2 separate regions of the Homo sapiens genome follow, and region 1 is linked to region 2. The links are contacts of gene promoters, found by promoter capture Hi-C in blood cells and fetal thymus (Javierre and others, 2016). All regions are on one chromosome and are shown on one strand. Each heading gives the region's core, a stretch centred on a gene start or on the middle of the fragment in contact. The rest is flanking DNA. Distances are from core to core; before and after follow the strand shown.

Region 1 (2,700 bases), core at 94-2,593, 2.5 Mb after region 2:
ACATTTGTGGACATGAAAACTGAGTGTAAATGTAGTTTTTGAGAAGCATTGGCCTAGGTTATTTTTAAAAATTCTTTTCCTATTATGTTTACTTCTCATAGTATGTTTGTTTTTGCTCATTTATTATATAAAATAATTGCTTTTTCCATAATTAAGAGAAGTTATTTATTTTTCAAAATATAAATATATTATTTACTTAGAATCTTGAAGTAGTCCTAAATTGATTTTTTGAGAAGAATAATGCTAATGGAGTACTGCTGTCTTTTTAGCTTTCATTTCCTTAATTTTAAATAATTTTCCTTTCTTTTATTTGGCCTATCTTGAATTTATAGTCTTCTTATGTTTTTGTAAGGTGGAGTTTTTTACTGTATTCATTTTGGGGAATTTTTTTGGCTGAATAAACATTGCCACAAGTCATGTTGCACTTTGATGCGCTGTAAAGTACTACAGTAATTGTGTTTTGGGGAGTGTGTAAAACATTTTATTCTTCATCTTCTATGTCATGAACCCCTTTCCCGTCTTTACCTGAAAAGGAGCTACCTTACCCCAGCATATACCTGCGGGATGTTCTCTCCAGTTCATTTTTACCTGGTGTCTTGAAATCCGAGCAATTCCTAAAAAGGTATTTTTTTCTGTCTTCTTCAGGTAACTATTTTAAAATATGCTTAGCTTTATTTAGGATTGATTAAACAAATTTAGAATATGCCCTTTGCAGTCTTAAAAAATGTGATCTTGATAGCATGTTTTTAATATTAGTTCCCAAGGGTGTGTGCTATCATCGTAACTATCATCTATGAATCTTTTTATGTTGTATTTGCATTTAAATTTTTGTTTTCTATTGAAATGAGGGCTTAAATAGGGCTTTTTCTTAGTCTAAATAGGGCTTTTTCTTTGTCTTACTTTTACTAGTTATTAACTACGTAGCACATTCCACAGTGATGGAGGTGACTGCAGTTGACCTTGTGTTACCCAGCTACACATTGCTGCTCCTTCTTTAATTGGTGACAGAAAGCTAATGAGAGCGTAGGATTCCCCCCAACCACCACTTGCCACTTCCTACAGTTGTTAAGATCTACTTTGTGTAATACTACATAACTATTTATTGCTGTAACAGAAAGCTTCAGGAAAAATGGAAGGGTTTTGGTAGGTAATAATCAATTATTATGTGAACTTGGAGGTAGAATAATCCACTAGATGTCAGTATTGTACCAGGAACTGTTTTTTTAAAACTACTTGTAACTGATTTCTTCTAACCAGCTCCCGGAAGTGGCCATTAATGGATACAATTTTTCAAATGTGCCTTGCCACACTTGTATTGTCAGTGAGCATAAAGAGTGTTGTAATTAGGCCGCCATCTCCCCAGTGTGGTTTTCGTGTCGTTTTATTAATGTGTTTATTGCATTTCTAGTCTTGGGTGAGTAAAGTACTTTAGAGAGAGGCTCAGCTCTCTAAATAAATATATGTATATTTATATATATATAGATTTATATATATATATATTCCATCTTCCTTTCCTGGTAATCAGCTCGAGATGTAATTTGAGTATTTAGAATTAATTTACTGTAATGAAAGCTTACCGATTAAGTCACAATTTTGGTTCAGCTCTACCCTTTTAAAATTTGTGTAAAGTGTGTGTGTATGTCTGTATATGTGTATATATATGTGTGTGTATATATGTGTGTGTATGTATATATTTGTGTGTGTGTGTGTGCATATATATATATATATATATATATATATATATATATATGGGTTTTTTCAAAAATAGTATGCTCATTGGAAAAATTCTGGATACAGAAATAACCCAGGAAACCAAAGTATTTTATAATCAAACCCTCTGAGTTAACACTTGAATTTTGTTTTCCTGAGGAAAATATGGGTATCCATATTATATGTGCTGTTCCATAACTTGCCTTTTTAACTTAAATCAAGAATCTGTATATTTCAGGATGGAAAGAGTTTTAATGGATACTATGGATACACCATTATTTGTTGATGTAATTATGGGCAATTGAGTCATTTTTGCTTTTTCACTATTAAAAAAGGCAAACTTTCTTGTACTGTATTAATTTTTGAACACTTACTTGAAGTATATTTGTAAAACAAATTCCTTGGAGTAGAATTGCTGTTTTAAAAATATTTACATTTTAAATTGTAGTAATGTTTGTCAGGTTTGTCATCTTGTTCTCCAAAAACAGTGCAGTATTTCCTGTTGTAGTACCATAAAGTTTTTGTAGTTCTAAAGTGAAAAAAGTATGTTAAAGGAAAAATTGTCACTGTTTTAGCTTTTAATTTAGGAGATTGTATTGGCTTTAGAATTTACAAACTGTTATTGGTAGATGTTTTTATTATCTTGCCAAAGTCTTTGCAGAGATTTGGGGCGTCCATTCAGCAGTGTTTCCTGAGTCGTTGTTTTTGGTCAATGCTGAGTTTGGCACTTGGAGGAACACGTGTAATTTGTTAGTGTCCAGGTATTTTAGACAGAGATTCTTCAGCCAAACCTTTGGAAACCTGTGACTCCTTTGGGAACAGTGATTTTGTCCTCCCTGTTAAGGAAGTCCAGGACACAATCATCTTGAGCCATGGAATTTAAAGTAGCAGTACCCATTAGCATTTCACATAACATTTGATGCAGATAATTACTGAAGTGCTTTGTTCCTAAAGAGCCCTTGAGAAATAAGCTATGTCTGCCTGTAATTA
Region 2 (6,018 bases), core at 1-2,500:
TCTATCACCGGCAGGTCCTCAGTTAGGTACACGCCTGTCTTGCTTGGGTGTCAACGACAGGAAACTTAGCTATCGCTGGATGTCTGCTTCCGCCACTCCACAGCAGGTGGTATCCAGAGTGTGTAAGCAAGGTCAGGGGTGCGAAATTTGGAGAAGAAAACTCAGAGAAAAATGCAGACTGCTTTTTTTGGAAGGGGTGTTTTCAGTTGCAATTTCCATACTGAGGAGCTAGAAATTGGCTGGTAAGGTCTAGACATTAACTTAACTAAACGTGCATTCCTCCTCTTGAATTTGGACTTTATAAGGAATTTGGATTGTATAACCACACGATGGAAGCTGCGAGAGGCTTCTGAACAAGGTACTGACGGCGACCAGCTGTGATGACTAAAAAGACGATTCTGGTGGTGGTGGATACGGTGGCTGGAGATAAGAAAAACCTCGGTTCAAACGAGATCTGAATTTACCCACTAACTACGACCACGAGGAGTTTATTCCTTTATCTTTCCGTTTTCTCTCTCTCCCGAGAAGTGTCAAAAACAGGATTTGGAGGTGGCAGGATAATGGCCAAAATGGGTAGACAAGGTGGCGAACGATTCAACCAGGCTCTGGGCTTGGCGCATGGTGGGCGGTGGCGCCCACACCTGGGCCTGGGAACCCGCCGCTCGGGCATCACTGGCTGCCGCGGCGACCGGCGAGGACACATGACCGAGGAGCGAAAGGTCAGAAGACAAGGGGACTGTTACAGGAGCAGGGGAGCCGCCACTGGCTGCTAAGGCCGTGCAACTGGCGCCGAAGCGCACGATCTCCGCCCGCCCCGCAGCGCGTCGGGAACTGTAGTCCCTCCCTCTCCTGCTCCCTGGCCCAGGACGGGCTCCGGGACAGCGCCTATCCCTCTAGCTGTAAATCACGCACTTTCCTGTCCTGGACGCCGGGTCCTTCCACTTCTCAGGCGTCTGGAGCTTACGTCACGGGCGGGTCACCGCCCACATAGCGGAGGCCTTTAGGTGTCTATGGAAAGCCTGTCGTACAGCAAGGTGGCAATAAAGGATCGACCCTTAACAGTGGTAGGAATGCACCTTCGATCCTTCTACTCCTATTGGCTGCTCCTCTGTGGGCGTCTCCCCCGCCGCATAGCACAGCTCCTCTCCCGGTGTTGCTCAGGCAGCGCCTTAGGCAGCCCCGCGCCCAGGGGAGGGGCGGGGCGAGCCAGGGCGGGGCGGGGCGAGCCAGGGCGGGGCGGGGCCCTGACTGGACTGCGTCGCGCTCGGGGGCCGCGCCGGGTAGCGTTTCTTTTTAGTGCCTGAGGCAGCTCTGGCTCGGAGAGCCTTTTGCTAGCCCCACGGGGACCTCTGTGCACGGATGGACCCGCCCGGACCTGGCGGGAAGCGGCCTGGCAGGCGGCGGCCCCGGCGGCATCAGCAGAGACAGGACGGGGCCGACGCCGCGGGCCCCTGAGGCGTGCGTGCCCACCGGGCCCGGCGGCGGCACCATGATGCCGGGCGAGACCCATTCGGCGGCGCCCGGGACGGCGGCGGACCTGTCGCGATGTCAGGGCTGCGCCTCTCTGCAGCAGGTGCAGCACCTCCCGGGGCCCCGGGCGCGGGGGGGGACTCGGCTCGGCCGGCCGGGAGCGCAGGGATGTGGGGTCCGGCCGCGCGGGCTGTGCCTCAGTGCGCTGCTCTCCCTTCCCAACCGTAGCTCTTGCTCGCTCGTCTCTCTGCTCTCTTTTTCCTACATGAGTTTTGGGGACGGCTTTCTTTGCTTTATTTAAGCTTGAAACCCAGAGTTCATTGACTGGAATGCGCTGGTGTAACGGTGGGGGTGGAGTAAGCGAGGTTTGGAGGGCCCCCCACCTTCCCTACCCGGCCTCGGAGCTCCCTAGGGCAGACTCCGTAGGTCAGTGAGGGACAGGTGAAACGCCGAGGGCAGTTATCTCCCTGAGGATAACGCTTTGGTCTTCTGGCCCATCCTGAGTATTTGTTGTTTGGAGGCAGAATCTTACGTGACATGTGGGTTGTCTGAGTCTTAGACTCGAAGAGTCTAGGGAGGCGTTTCAGCTTATAGCAGATGTGCCATCCCGAGGCTAATTTTTTAAAAAGCAAGCCAAGTAATTGGTCAAGTAGCTTGTCAGTTGTTTGATAAAAGTAGTTTATGAAAGGCATGCAGAGACTGGAGGTTTCTAACAGCGGCGTGGGCTCTTCTTTAGAGTGACATAAGGGAGAATTGCTAGAGTATGGCTCCAGATCTTATGGGGTGGTACTTGGGCAATAGTGCCCCTCATTTCCCACGACTCTCCTAGCTGCCTGATGTCGGGGGTCTCTTTTAACTTCCTACTATCGCGGTTTCAGTGATAAAACGGAACTCACCAGCACCTCATTACCTACTCTGCCTAGTGTTCTAGGAACTACAGACATTGTGGTGAACAAAATAGGATCTCTCATAAGTAAGATGCATATGTGTGAATAAGGCCTCAGAAGATTTTAGGTGTTAGAAAATAAAGGAGGATGTTGGAATATTGGTCTTGTCTCTTAGCTAGAGTAGTCAGGTAGGGAATTTTTGAGTCAGTAACTTTCAGATATTTGAATAATGGGAAGGATCGGGCTGTCAGAAGAGATGTGGGAAGAGCTTCCTGGATAGAGGGATTAACAGGTGGAAAGGTTCCTTTGGTGAGAAGGAGCAGGGTGTCTTTGATGAGCAGAACATGGTATGGTTGGCATGAGCATAGTGCACACGGAAGATGGTTGATGAGACCAGACGGGAGTGCAGGCTAGGTAGGCCATGCCGAGAAACTTGGTTTGCATTTTAAGTGCAATATCTGTGAACTGATTGCAAACATTTTAAGTGTTGAAGGAAGGGGAGGAAGGAAATGTGCTGCTTTTGTGAGTAGAAGGAGAACTAACAGATCATTGCCTTCACTGAGCTGCATTGTGTAGGTATCTTATAACGCCCCCCCGCCCCCGCCACCACCACCCCAGGAACGTGATTGGAGTTCTCCCGAATCTTTAATACATTGTATTTATTATTCGAGCCAATTCACTCAACAAACATTTATTGATCACCTGCCGTATTTTAGACACTGCAATTATGGCATTAGGGGAGAAAAAGACAAAAATTCTTGATCTCTTGGAGCTTCCGTTCTAGGAGGGTGGCAGGATAAATGAAACAAATGAGTTATGTTAGAGGGTAATGAAAACGTTGTTGATGAATTGAACAGAGATGGGGAGGGAATGAATGGGTGAGGACTAGGCCAGTGGCTGTTGGAATTTAAGTAGGGAGTCCTGGAACGTTTATATTGGAGCAAAGGTGAGAGAATAATAAGCTCTGTAGAAATCTTGGAAGAAAAGTCTCCCATACAGTGGAAACATCAGATGTGAAGAACTGTAGCAGGAGCTGGCTTGGTGTGCTTGGGAAGAGCAAGAAGGCCAGTGAAGCTGGAGCGGAGTGAATGCTGGGAGTCAGGAAGGTAGGAGGAGGGCCTGATTGTGTGGGCTCCTGTAGACCATTGTTGGGGTTTGGGCGATGGAAATGGTGAGTCATTGGAGGCTTTTGTGCAGAAGAACTACTGATGTGAACTGTGCTTTTCAGTCATGGATCTGTTATGGTTAAATTTAGCAACTGTATTCTTCTGGTTGCTTAGGCCAGAAACTAGATGGCATCCTTGGTGCAGCTCTTTTTTTCTCATAACCTGTATCCAGTTTATCAGATTGTGTCCGCTCTGCCTTCATTATTCACCCACTTTTCAACATCTCCACTGCTTCCACCGTGGTGTGAACTACTCTAATGTATGGCCTAGAAATTGAATCTCCTTCCTTCTACCCTTGCCACATTTCCTGCTGTGGGTTCTCAAAACATCAATAAGAGTAATCCTAGATCCAGAGGTCTGCAAACTTTTTCTGTAAGGAGCAAGATCACAAGTATTTAGGCTTTGGGGACTTGCTCAGAACTGCTCAGCTCTGCCATTTTCATGTGAAAGCAGCTGTAGACAATTCACAAAGAAATGAGTATGCCTGTGTTCCATTGAAACATTATAAACACTGGAGTAGGGCCTTAGTTTACAGAGTTCTTCTCTAGGTCAGGACACTATTGCATTTGGATTTTCTGTGGCCTGGAATTGGATTACCTTTTTAGGGGAAAGTTACGAGTAGAGTCTCTGGAGGAATTCTGTAGTTGTGCAAAGTGAGTCTAGAAAAATAGGTTCCTGGCAGTTTATAGAGAACCTTGAATGGTAACCATCATAAATTCTTGTACTTATTTCTGTCAGTGTTATGGGATGGTGAAGGTTTTTGCATAGTTACGTTAGGACAGTGCTTGTAGTAGAAGTAACGGTGGTATGCAGGATGGATTGAAGGGGGGTGCAACTAGGTATGGTAAATTATTTTACTAATACATAATAGTGATAACAAAAGTCTGAAGTAATTGAAGGTTCCTGGGAAGGGGAATAAAGAAGAAAAAGGTTCTGAATATGAGACAGTGTAAAGAATGGGCAGGTCTCATGTCAGGAAATGGAAGGTCCCGAGGTTTAAAACTCAAATGACCATGAGAACTGTGGTAGATACAGGAGGAAGAGGAAATCAAGGTGGAAGGGACTGAAGTTGGAATGACATCAGAACTAGGAGTGTTCAGCCATTTTCAGATTTAATGTTTGTGGAACACAGTGCTTCCAAGGTGCCCTAATATCCCTCAAGGAAATAGCAGGCCAGGTTAGATGTGCACTGTGTTCAGTGTAAGAATTTTATCTGGGCTGGGAGCGGTGGCTCATGCCTGTAATCCCAACACTTTGGGAGGCCAAGGCAGTGGATCACGAGGTCAGGAGTTCAAGAACAGCTTGGCCAAGATGGTGAAACCCCGTCTCTACGAAAAATACAAAAATTAGCCGGGCATGGTGGCATGCGCCTGTAATCCCAGCTACTCAGGAGGCTGAGGCAGGAGAATTGCTTGAACCTGGGAGGCCGAGGTTGCAGTGAGCCGAGATGGTGCCACCACTGCACTCCAGCCTGGGTGACAGAGCAAGACTCCGTCTCAAAAAAAAAAAAAAAAAGCTTATTTGACAGAAGGGAGGTGTGAGGATAGGAAAATGGGGCATTATGTTCTGTCACTTAAAGGAATCTTTGAAACCATGAGGCCAATTCATGGGATTACATGCTATCATTAGAGTCAGTGACGGAAAACCAACTAGCTGATGTGTGGCCTTTGATGAAGGGGAACATGGAATGGTGAGGAAAGGAGAAACAGATAAAGTATGTTAGAGGGTTAAACAGGGAGTGCGTTCCAGAGGGAATCAAGAGTTCCAGAGGGAACCAAGATCGGAAAGAATGAGAATTAAGGAAAAGCAATTCTTTTGGTCAATTAGTAGATAACCGCTTTTTGGAAATAATTTTCGCATGTATTATAACTACGTGAAGTTCCATATTTCAATTAAACTTTCGTGTGAGAGAGAAACTAAAGAGGTACAGAGAGAAGATATTCTGTGCTATAGTTTTAACTTTTTGATCATGCAGAGAATTTACAAGTGTAACATAGGAGTCAGTCTTTCCAATGGTAGGCAACCATATTGGTGTTGTGACTTCATTCTGAACTGTAATGTTAGGCTAACTTGCCTCTCTGTCTTGAATAGTGGTTTGCTTGCACTGAAAATCTTCCTTTCATTTCTTAATCCTCCCTGTCCTTTTTTTCTTTAGTTGTTGAAGAGATAACAGTACCTTTGCAGAGATCATTATTTGATTCAGAAGTGTGCAGATTGACTACATTTTCTGTGTCTTTTGCTCGTAGTCTCACAAATCACTTCATATCTGTTTTGTTACGCTCATTGATTACAGTAGTTCATTGCTGATCCATAGCCCAATGCCCAAAGTTCTGGGTTGCAGAACTTTGGCAGTCAGATATAACAGTGTGGGTCCTCACTCTAGTCATATTATGTATTATGTATGGTTAAGTAAAGTCTTAAGTTGTGTGTGTTTAAGTCAAGCTAGTGAAGCTGACATAGTCTCTTTATTCTGATGAAGGAGAGGCCCATATTTG

What was found. The method cuts DNA at HindIII sites, captures the fragments that hold promoters and counts their contacts. A CHiCAGO score of 5 or more calls a contact.
Region 1: a fragment that was not itself captured here is called in contact with the fragment with the promoter of ICE1 in region 2 in 2 of 17 cell types (naive CD8 T cells and naive B cells); the score reaches 7.7 in naive CD8 T cells.

The regions. Positions count from the first base shown.
Region 1 is chr5:7,886,082-7,888,781 of GRCh38, forward strand. MTRR (5-methyltetrahydrofolate-homocysteine methyltransferase reductase) reads left to right here. Exons shown (of 15, transcript NM_002454.3): 8 at 534-622. Among named protein-coding and RNA genes, the nearest start is that of MTRR, 18 kb to the left of the region's middle. The HindIII fragment of the contact is 454 bases long and covers 1,117-1,570 here.
Region 2 is chr5:5,421,427-5,427,444 of GRCh38, forward strand. ICE1 (interactor of little elongation complex ELL subunit 1) reads left to right here and starts at 1,251. Exons shown (of 19, transcript NM_015325.3): 1 at 1,251-1,573. The coding sequence starts at 1,490. LOC101929200 (a long non-coding RNA gene) reads right to left here and starts at 703. Exons shown (of 6, transcript XR_001742583.3): 1 at 1-703. RefSeq lists enhancers at 1-497, 498-1,008, 874-1,123 and silencers at 1,154-1,483, 1,544-1,683. The HindIII fragment of the contact is 2,607 bases long and covers 1-1,770 here.